Linked DNA regions of Homo sapiens: regions 1 and 3 are each linked to region 2. Evidence: promoter capture Hi-C in 16 types of primary human blood cells and fetal thymus (Javierre and others, 2016). All regions are on one chromosome and are shown on one strand. Each heading gives the region's core, a stretch centred on a gene start or on the middle of the fragment in contact. The rest is flanking DNA. Distances are from core to core; before and after follow the strand shown.

Region 1 (3,522 bases), core at 146-2,645, 230 kb before region 2:
TTTTGATTCTTCAACCACATCATGACCTTTTAAATAAGATGTCCAAAACTGGTATGTGAGTGGTCTGGGGTAAGAGCACATCTGCCCATGCCTTAAGAGATATTATGTGGCATGTACATATGTTTTTCTGTGGTTTGAAAACAAATTTGTGTCTGCAAATCTTAAAGATAGGTTCTGTTTTGGAAGGGATTTTGTTTCTTTGCTTGCTTTATAAAGGCTGTCCTGGTACGTATACATTTCTTTTCTGTTTTTGTTTTTTTGAGACGGAGTCTCGCTCTGTCGCCCAGGCTGGAGTAGAGTGGCGCGATCTCGGCTCACTGCAAGCTCCGCCTCTCGGGTTCACGCCATTTTCCTGCCTCAGCCTCCGAAGTAGCTGAGATTACAGGTTCCCGCCACCACGCCCGGCTAATTTTTTGTATTTTTAGTAGAGGTGGGGTTTCACCGAGTTAGCTAGGATGGTCTCAATCTCCCGACCGGGTGATCCGCCCGCCTCGGCCTCCTGAAGTGCTGGGATTACAGGCGTGAGCCACCGCGCCCGGCCACGTATACATTTCTTATTGGCAATTTCCAGCAGGAATATGGCAAACTTTAGGATAAAAGTAGCCTTAAATGAATAAGAACTTGGGCTAAGAAGCCAAAAGCCATGCTATTCCTATACTGCTTGTTCTTCCAGTGCCAAACTCTGGAATAATCCATCCTCCAAATCATTAAGTTAAAGGTAGAGTGACTCACCAACTCTCAGGAGGTGAGGGTAAACCAGACTTGTCATAATTTTATAGGCTCCTCTTTCCACTCACGAAAACAAGTTATGTGTGGCATTTACGTACATCCGTGTTGCTGGGCATTTTCCAAATGCCTCTTGGAGAACATTAAACAGGAAATTGATGCCACAGGGCAAATATTCATTCTTCCCATCCTCTCACAAAAACAAGTACAGATTTGCTGTGGCTAGACTGACTTCCTGCATTGTGCTGTTACTTATTCAATGTTACACTAGAAGAAAAAAAAAAGTACATTCTCCATTTCAATTTAGAGCATGTTGAAAATGGCCAAAATGTATAAACAAAAAAGCTTCCCTCCTGAGAGCACAGAAGTATAGATTTCTATGCTTTATAAAATCACAAAATCCAAAGGTTAATGATTGCTTTTCATGCGTATTGATGAAAGTCAATTTCTGTTACAGTAGACACACCAAATTTGGTTTAAACAATATGTGCTCTAGTTTTCAAATGACAAAGTCTGTAAGCATTTGGACACTGCAGCTTTACATATAAGGATGGCATCTTCTTCTAACCTGTAATAGTGGTCTTTGTTAGTGGCACCTCCTCAGTATCCATTTCTCCCCATTCACTTTATCAGCCCATAAACTGTTTTGCGATCCATGGGGTTTTAGGACAACTGAATCCACCTTCAGCCCCAGAATGGCTAATGTGCCTTAGGTTAAACTCTCCAATATATTATCTCCTCTAGCTAGAGATTTGTTCCAAGGGAATGTGTAACCTAAGTTCATCCAATCAAAGTAAATCTAGAGGTTTTTGCTGGGAAGAAGTTATGCTTTCTTTCCTGATAGACAAGAGCACTGAATCAATTGGCAGTTATCTTAGGATCATGATGAGTAGCAGCATTAAAATAAAGTAATTACTATGAAGAACAGAACAGAGAAACAATTGGAAGAAACCAGGCCCTAGATGCCATCATTTTGCTGCTGGATCAAGCTTTACCTGAAAATGTATCACTGGACCATTTAGTAATATAAACCATTAACTTTCCAATATTACTTAAAACCAGCTTGATTCAGGTTTTCTGTAATTTGCAACTAAAGCTTTGTAACTACTATACCTATCTGTTGGAAGAGATTTAGAAAAGAAAGGATGAGAAAAGGATGAGGGGAAAAAAATGTCTCAAGTGCCTTTAATGCCAGTGCTCTTTTCTATCAGGAAAGAAAGCATAACTTTTCCTCAGCAAAAACCTCTAGATTTACTTTGATTTGATGAGTAACCACCATAGTCATGTGAGGTGGGAGAAAAGTGAATCCATGTACTTCTTCCTGGGTCTAGGAGAGGTAGGAAGCCTTAGCAGCAGGGAGGGCCTACTCTCAACTAAGGTCACTCTTATATCCCTGCTCCTTCCAGGCTGAACTGCAACACATGCAGTTTGCAATTACTGAAATCATTTGACCACCATTTCTCTCAGATGGTTTCTACCACCTCCCTCTGAAGAATGATATATTGTTATCTCCCATTTTATAAATGAAGAAACTGAAGCCCAGAAATCCTAAGTTTCATATATATTAAACAGCAGTAGAGGATAAAGCTCAGATCTTCTTATTTCAAAACCTAGAATCTTTGTCATATAACACATATCATCCTTGTTACCCTTTTTGTATTGTATGTGGTAATTGGGGTCATCTAGAATGAGGCCTGGAAGAATTTCACATCCCTACCGTTTCCTTCCCTCTTCCTTCACTAGGAGTAACCAGAATGTATATTGTTCCACACAAGAATTAGGTCATCCTAATTTCTTTCAGCAGTGCTCCATGCTCCAAAAGTACCACCTTCCAACACTCCATGACCTGACACCATCAAGAGTCATATTTCCTCAGTCCGTAGGATAAAAATCTGCTAGAAATGCGTTTGCTGAATGAATGCACACTAAGATATGAAATATGATAAGTTTTACGTGTTACTCCTGTCTCTGAACATAAATACTTTATAAGTGAGCACTTAGATAGCCAGTGCCTTCCATTGAAGGAGTTAATATCGTGTCTATATTTTAGGCAGTATGGCAAGTTGGAGGCAAAAATATTTTGAGTTGAGGCCCTTCTTGGTAATGTTGCACTTAAACTATTTCTTCCTTCACTTACTCACAAAGCTTCACTTTTGCTCCAGCCCGCAAGTTTTCAGATAACTTTGGGTACACCTTGATCCAAATATAGAAATACTCTTTGCCAGCCTAACATGGACTCAGTCATTCCCAAAGTAATCACACACCCCTCAGCTTTATTCAGCAAACTTTACTGAAGGCTTACTGCATGCTGGCTCACTGTATGCGTGCTTACTCCCATGCAATATGCAGGCACTCCAACAGTTTAGGGTGTGGACTTGACAAAGATACCGTGTTACTTAGGCTCTTTTACTTGGCAAGGTACAGAGCATACTTAGGTTACTTGAGGAGACAGAAATTGTTAGAAAAACACATGGAAAACTATGGAGCTACAAGAAGACTCTTGTAGGTGGCCCGGTCTCACAGAGAACTAGAACATGGTATAATAATAGTTCTGAAGCTCTCACAGTATGACAAGAGCTCTGGTCATCTGGACATCACCTCAGGTTTGTTTATCTATCTAGTGACTGTACAATTACTGTGACTCAGCCATTCTCTTATCTTCCTTATTTTGCTTCCTTTTGTAACTTTTCTCCACTTCATGTCTTCTCCTACCTCATTGCTTCTGTTTTAAGCCTTTACACATCATGCCTCTGAGTTTCTGATGCTCTCTTCTGTCTGTGGCCCACCTTGTGTGAC
Region 2 (3,680 bases), core at 1,032-3,531:
ACACTGCTTCAGTACTCCAAGTGTGCCACCTTCATAATTGTAATTGTTGCCATTACCAAAAATATTCTATCATAAGTATCATTCCCTATCATATTTCTCTAATTTACCCCCACAAAATAATTTGAAATTCATATTTTAGATTATCTTCTGTTTATAGTTACCTTTAGCTTTACAAAATGTATTAATTTTTTTCTGCTAGCTTTTTTTGATTATATCAATTGTAACATTTATATCCACTAAACATTTCAAACTTTTATCTTTCCTATTTTAATTGTTAAAATATTTTTCTCAGGCATAATTTTTTTAAATCTCATCCTTATCATTTCTTCTTTTCTTCTTTTAAAAGAAAGATGATTGTTGTCTCTTTGGATCTTTTAGTTTTCTGATTTTTTTTTTTTTTTTTTTTTGATGGAGTCTTGCTCTGTTGCCAGGCTGGAGTTGGAGTGTAGTGGCGCGATCTTGACTCACTGCAACCTCTGCCTCCCGGGTTTAAGTGATTCTCCTGCCTCAGCCTCCTGAGTAGCTGGGGACTACAGGCGTGCGCCACCATGCCTGGCTAATTTTTGTATTTTTAGTAAAAGCGAGGTTTCACCATGTTGGCCAGGATGGTCTCGGTCTCTTGACCTTGTGATCCACCCACCTTGGTCTCCCAAAGTGCTGGGATTACAGGCATAAGCCACCGCACCCAGCCTCTGATTTTTATCTTTTATCTTCTTTTTATATCCTTAGTTTGTTTATAAATAGGCAGAAGAAAATCTAGTTATAGAGACAGATCCAAAAAGTTTTATTTATGAATTGGTCATAGATGGAGAAGGAAAAAAATAATTAGTGTTGAAACCCACTATTTTAACCAGAACAACAAATGAGTTTAAAAGAATGCAACTTAGTGAGATAGGAAAAACTGGGGGAGGAGTATGTGTAAGAGAAAATAATAATTTCTTCTTCTATCACTACCATGTAATAAAATAAAGAGCATTTTTAACATCAAAAAAGACATAAACCCAGATATTTTTAAATGAATACTTTTGATTTTCTGAAAAATTCACTAGATGGTCTTTTTTTCTTTTTCATTTTGTGGTGAATTAATGAAAACTTCTGGCATTAAGGAACACTTGCGGTAGATAATGGAAGGATTTATATTTCAGGAAAACTCACTCTGGTACCTGTATAGAGAATAGACTGGAAAAGATTGAAGACAAAAGCCCAATTAGGACTAGTAATAGGAAGCTGTGGAGGTAGATTACAATTTGGATACTGTGAGGAAGAAAGATATCTACCAAACGGTTAATAAGGAGGCTGGAGGTTGAGGAAATTGTGCCTAATGCACTAGAGTGTTCTCAGTAATCAAAAGTAGCATTTGCTGGGAGTGATGTGGTTGAATTTTTTTTTGAAGAAAAAATGATAATGTGTTGAGTTAAAAATGGAATCTAGCTGTTTTAATAGACATACTTAATCCTTCTGAGCTTCAGAGAGGGAGTCTTGCCTAGCCAACCTGTTCTTAGTATTATGTTTTATTTAGCATGGCTTTGGAAGCCACAAAACTCTATAGGTCTAGTTGAAATAAAATAAAATAGTAGTAACTTGTATCAGACATATATTAAATATTGCCTTCATCAATGAGATCATGAGTTTCTTAAAAGCAAGAGTCCCATTTTCTTCTTCCTACAGAGGTGGCCTATTGTTTAGTGAAAAGAGCCCACGCCTTGGAGACCCACACCGCAGGTCTACGACCCTCAGGCTCTTCAGCTGCAATGGCGGTAATGATGCGCACGTCATAAGATTCTTCAAGGTATTTAATGAAATAAAGGATGTGTAAAGGAGAAGGGATTTTACATGAGTTAGCTATACCTTTCTCTTCTTTCTTCTTCAACGTACTCAGTCCTGGGTACGCACAGAGGGCACTAATGGCGTGGGGCCAGAAGAGCTTTTAATTTTGGAATTCTGAAGAACTGAGAACTCGTGAGTCTGTCAGCAGCTCTGAAGTGGAATATCAATAAAGTTTTGTTAATTTTTTTTAAAGCACCGACTAAACTACAAATCCCTTCTCTCTCCTCCAGGTGGGTGGGTCACGTGGCTTGTCAGGAATCCGGAAGTCTGGCCCGCTCGCCCAATCACGCCCGGAAGCCTATCTAGTGGCGCCAAGCTGGCCAATCCTGGGGACGCTTGCTCTTCGCCAAACCGGGTCCCGCCTCCGCGCGCCGCGCTGACGGGTCGTTAGCGGATACGGCGGCCGCAGGGGCGGAGTCAAGGGCCTTTGCCCGCCTTGGCGGCCGGCTCTACGTTCCCTGTTCTCGCCTGCAGCTCCGCCATGGCTCCTAAAGGCAGCTCCAAACAGCAGTCTGAGGAGGACCTGCTCCTGCAGGATTTCAGCCGCAATCTCTCGGCCAAGTCCTCCGCGCTCTTCTTCGGAAACGCGTTCATCGTGTCTGCCATCCCCATCTGTGAGTGCTGGGAGCGAGGCGGGTTAGGCAGGCCGCCGGCTAGTCGGGCTGGGCGGGGACGTGGCAGGACCCGGCGAGCAGGGAAGGCGTGGGTGCCGGCCGGGGGTCGGCAATCTCTCCAGCTCCCCTGAGCTCGGGGAGGCACGGAGCCTCTTCTTTGGGCACAGTGTTGTCGCTTGGGATTGTCCTGTGCAGCACTCGGGGAGGTCACTTGTTAAAAGTACGCACGTTCCCGAGCTCCACCCCAGGAGAAGGTGGTTAACTAGTTCTGGGGTGGCGGCCCCGAATCTCTATTTAAACAGACAAACTCAAGCATACTGCCTCTGCCCTTTTCTATACAACTGTTGCTTGCCGTTACGAAATTTTAAACTTATTACTTATTTTGCATAAATTAGTTAGGTGAGAAACCCATGAAGTGACCCACTGAATTATAAGTGCATCTTTACGTGAGCTACTTCACACCATTGCATAATTTTCCTGGTTTTTGCAAAAAGAGAGAGGTTGAAGTGCCAGGGGTTAGGGATCTACCTTATTTATACTTTTTAATAATCCTACTGGACCAATTCTAGAATTCTCACTTGGTTGGGAAACTGCAGACTTGGACAAGGTCGTTTTTAGTAGAGCTCAAGTTTCCAGAACTCCTGTCTTTTGCTGCACTGTTGTTGGGCATTTAAAACTAAATGTATTTTTCTCTTTTGTCCTTATACAACCCAGCGTGCCATTAACGTGATGTGAAGCCATATGATGGCTCACTAATTGGACATAGCACTGCTTGGAGTTCTGATAACAGCCACGTCAGCAAGGAAACTATGGTTTGGGGCTGCACGTGGCATTTTGGAATGGCCTGTGTTTCGCATGCTAGTACCCTGATGAATGAAATTTGAAGTCTGACTTGTGATTACGTTGAGCCAGAGTTTGTTCTCATTTTAGAAGTTGAAATCTCATCTGGACTAGTAATAGGAAGGTGATGTTTTTCAAATGTTCTGAACTGGAAAGCTTGAGACTATACTGTTACTGGTTATCTCGCTTCTGAAGATCCTCAGATACTATTGGATTGCATAACTAATAACCTGGTATTTTACCAGGCTTAGCTATAATTAATTTCGCAGGCTTTTGTTGCGGGGTTGTAATGTTTTGCTTCTTTTTGTACCCTTCCCCCTTTTATTTTAATTCAGGGTTATACTGGCGAATATGGCATATGGATCTTATTCAGTCTGCTGTTTTGTATAGTGTGATGAC
Region 3 (3,556 bases), core at 382-2,881, 150 kb before region 2:
CCAAGATCGCACCACTGCACTCCAGCCTGGCGACAAAGCAAGACTCCGCCTCAAAAAAAAAAAAAAAAAAAACTTTTCCATTTCCTCCAAGTATTACCTGCAAAATAAAATATTGATTCTTCTCTTGTAAATGATAATGGGCTGCTAGATAATGTACTTTCTGTAGATTCACACTGCAGAAAAGTTTAAGCAGCAAGTTCTGGTTAGGTCTGTTCATTCAGTCACTCAATCATACATTTAACCAACCAATCAACATTTACAGATCACCAACTATGTATTAATCCAGTGATCTTAAATGGAACCAAAACAACAACAAATTTTAAAGAATTACCATAAGTTTTATTTTTGCTTAGTTTTATTAAAAAAATAAATATGTCATAAAGCTTTCTTTTTCCTTAGGGAGAAAAAAAGGAACAAGTCTCATAAAACCAAATAAGCAATGGTAAGGTGTCTTAACTTGAAAAAGATTAGGAGTCACTGGTTTACAAGTTATAATTGAATGAAAGAACTGTAACAGCCACAGTTGGCCATTTCATGCCAATGGCAGCAAACAACAGGATTAACTAGGGCAAAATAAATAAGTGTGTGGAAGCCCTGATAAGTGCTTAATAAACAGACTGATTCACTGAGACATCAGTACAGATACATCTTGCTTAAACAACACAGAAGTTCCTGAAAAGTTTTGTGTAAATGATATAACCACAAACATTACCAGGAGAGCTTGGTAACTGAAAGAATTCCATGGCGAATTCTTTTGTGAACAACTACTTTCACTTTTGTAAATCCAGGTATTTGCTTTTTATAAGGAGTTTACCTAGTTGCTACCTCTCTGAACTGAGGAAACAGCATATTCACCAAACGTTGTGCTCCAGCTGGACCACTGGCACAATTTCCAAGTTTGTGTTTCTATTAAGTAAGTAGTGTAAGTAAGGTACAGAGTCAGCCAGGGAACCCAGCTGTATCTGACAAAGCAGGTGTAGGAGTGGGACTGCCATCTACCAATAATTCCAGCAAATACTTTTGCTAATATACTTTGTGCAAAACACAGTAATAACCTTATCAATTTGGCTATAGATGTACTTCCTTTTTCTAAAACTTTCAGTCACAAGCTAGGTCTGGAACCCGAAAAGGAAGTAATACTTCTAACCCTCAAGACTGCCTTTAACCAAATTAGCTGCCCAACTCCTTCAAATTGGAATGGATGATAATGAAAGAGACTGAGTTTTCCAAAGCTGAAGTTTAACAACACAAAAATCACATTTCATATCACTAATTAGTGAAAAGTTTTGCTGGTGACAAAAATTTTTCAAATGGTTGTTTTTTGTTGTTGTTTTAACTTCCTCTAAATAGAACTCTGAATTCTGGGGCAAACTCTGCAGAAGTTAAAGTCACTGATGTTCTCTGGTTGGCTGATACATTTTAGTACTGCTGATAGAAATAAAAATTTCTTTCTACCCACCAGAATTTCATGAACTTATACTATACCAAAGCAGTGATGCTTTGGACAGGGAATACGCATGGTAGTACTAGTTCCAGTAAGTTTTATCAAACGTAAATAAATAAATAGAATCCTCACATTGCTCACAGCCTCCATTCCATTTGGTCAAACTTCTACCAGGCCCAAGCCACATTTAAATTAGGCTGTTCAGTTTTTTAATTTAATGCTCCTAATAACATTGCTGTCTATATGTACAAGTGTGAATGAAAAGAGTGTGTAATCTGTAGTCTTTTCCACACTGAGTACACTAGCAATTAGTAAATAATTAAAGAGTAAGTGGTCATTTTAAAACTTGTATTTTTTTTTTAAAAAAAGCATTTTCTAGCACTTTAAAAAATGGGTCTGAAAAGTGCCCTATTAATGTCCAATGCTGTTCCCCACCCAGTCCCACCCATTCAAAACCTGCTACAAATGCTGGATTGAGTTCATATCAAATAATTTAGCAGTACCAAGATTTTTCAAATGGAAACAGTGTTACTGACTTCTTCATATTGGATAACAAAATAAGGGTAACTCTGGTCATCATTAAAAATGACAAAAATCTGAGGCTCAAAGAAATTATCCACACAAGAGTCATAAAGGTCACTGGTGACACTGCCAGGATTGACTGGCGGGGGCCTTCTCATGCCATGACTGCCCATTGTGTATCTGCCCGTCAGCACTTTGGCCAGAAACATGAAGTGGACTCCTTTGGAGGACTTCTTAGAAAAGTTATGAGAGTAGCTTGCCTTCTTTGCAAAATAACTGCCTTGTCCAAACATTGTAGCATGCTTTCCACAGACTCGAGGGTCAAAGTTGTGTTTGCAGATTCCATCTACCACATCCTGGGATGTTCCATGAAATAAATGTCTCTCATTTATTATCCTGTCACGGCCAAACATTTTCCTGTTCATATATTCCTTTTTCCTAATGGAAAGAACAGACAGAGAATTCAGAAGGATGAAATACAGGTCAATTTAACAGGCATGATGTAGTCATAAACTTCTCTTTATGGTTTTAATGAGGAGTTATCAAGGGCAAAATGCCATCAAAGATCCTATTAAAAGTTGAAACTTATCTTTCCACTGTAGAAAAGGCCTTTTCCTTCTTTCTCCACCAATCATTCACTTGCTTTCTCTTTCATCTTAAATCTATTAAGAGTTCTCCTATGTTTTTCCTCAGGATGCCCTCCTTGCCTAATTCCTCCAATCTGAGGGTCTCTTAGATTCTGAGATTCCTGAAATCTAAATGTATTCCCTCCATTTGTCCTTCATTAGTTTGTTGACTTGAGAGGCACCACAGTAAAGGGATTAAGAGCAAGGCCTCTGGTGCCAGACGGCCTGGGTTCAAATTCCAGCACCATATCATAATAGCCGCATGACCTGCAGCAAAGTAAGCTTTCTGTGACTCAGTTTCTTCTTCTCTGTAGGATATAAATTGTAATAATCCTACTTATGTCTGTTATGAGGATTATATGTCAGTCAATACACAGAAAATATGAACATAAATTCTGTGCAAATGTTTACTATTATGTTCCTCATTTGACACTGGCTACAATAAAGCTCTCTTGATTCTTGAACTTTTTTTTTTTTTTTTTTGAGACGGAGTCTGGCTCTGTCGCCCAGGCTGGAGTGCAGTGGCGCAATCTCGGCTCACTGCAAGCTCCGCCTCCCAGGTTCACACCATTCTCCTGCCTCAGCCTCCCGAGTAGCTGGGACTACAGGTGCCCGCCACCACGCCCAGCTAATTTTTTCTATTTTTAGTAGAGACGGGGTTTCACCGTGTTAGCTAGGATGGTCTCGATCTCCTGACCTCGTAATCTGCCCGCCTCGGCCTCCCAAAGTGCTGGGATTACAGGCTTGAGCCACTGCGCCCGGCCGTCTTGAACTTTTCATACATCTGACTCACCTTTTATATTTCTCCCAAAGAAACTGGTTTTGGACTCTCAATATCTGCAAAATTCTGTATTTAAACTCAGGCACAGTCTTATGAAAAAGATTGTAAATGATCCGATAACTTTTATCCTCTGCAGAAACAGGGACTTGGATGAAGTCCTGAGATGGATGCATATAAACCCAA

What was found. Contacts are between HindIII fragments. The CHiCAGO score rates a contact against its expected background, and 5 or more counts as called.
Region 1: a fragment that was not itself captured here is called in contact with the fragment with the promoter of SSR3 in region 2 in 1 of 17 cell types (non-activated CD4 T cells); the score reaches 5.4 in non-activated CD4 T cells.
Region 3: a fragment that was not itself captured here is called in contact with the fragment with the promoter of SSR3 in region 2 in 13 of 17 cell types (neutrophils, monocytes, naive CD4 T cells and 10 more); the score reaches 11.5 in neutrophils.

The regions. Positions count from the first base shown.
Region 1 is chr3:156,781,620-156,785,141 of GRCh38, reverse strand. The region is part of intron 1 of LINC00886 (long intergenic non-protein coding RNA 886); the gene reads left to right. Among named protein-coding and RNA genes, the nearest start is that of LINC00886, 34 kb to the left of the region's middle. The HindIII fragment of the contact is 644 bases long and covers 1,074-1,717 here.
Region 2 is chr3:156,553,718-156,557,397 of GRCh38, reverse strand. SSR3 (signal sequence receptor subunit 3) reads left to right here and starts at 2,281. Exons shown (of 5, transcript NM_007107.5): 1 at 2,281-2,441; 2 at 3,617-3,680. The coding sequence starts at 2,309. RefSeq lists an enhancer at 2,343-2,422. The HindIII fragment of the contact is 5,682 bases long and covers 1-3,439 here.
Region 3 is chr3:156,703,532-156,707,087 of GRCh38, reverse strand. It overlaps TIPARP (TCDD inducible poly(ADP-ribose) polymerase), which reads right to left. Exons shown (of 6, transcript NM_015508.5): 5 at 3,386-3,556; 6 at 318-2,404. The coding sequence ends at 1,957. Among named protein-coding and RNA genes, the nearest start is that of TIPARP-AS1, 30 kb to the right of the region's middle. The HindIII fragment of the contact is 2,491 bases long and covers 386-2,876 here.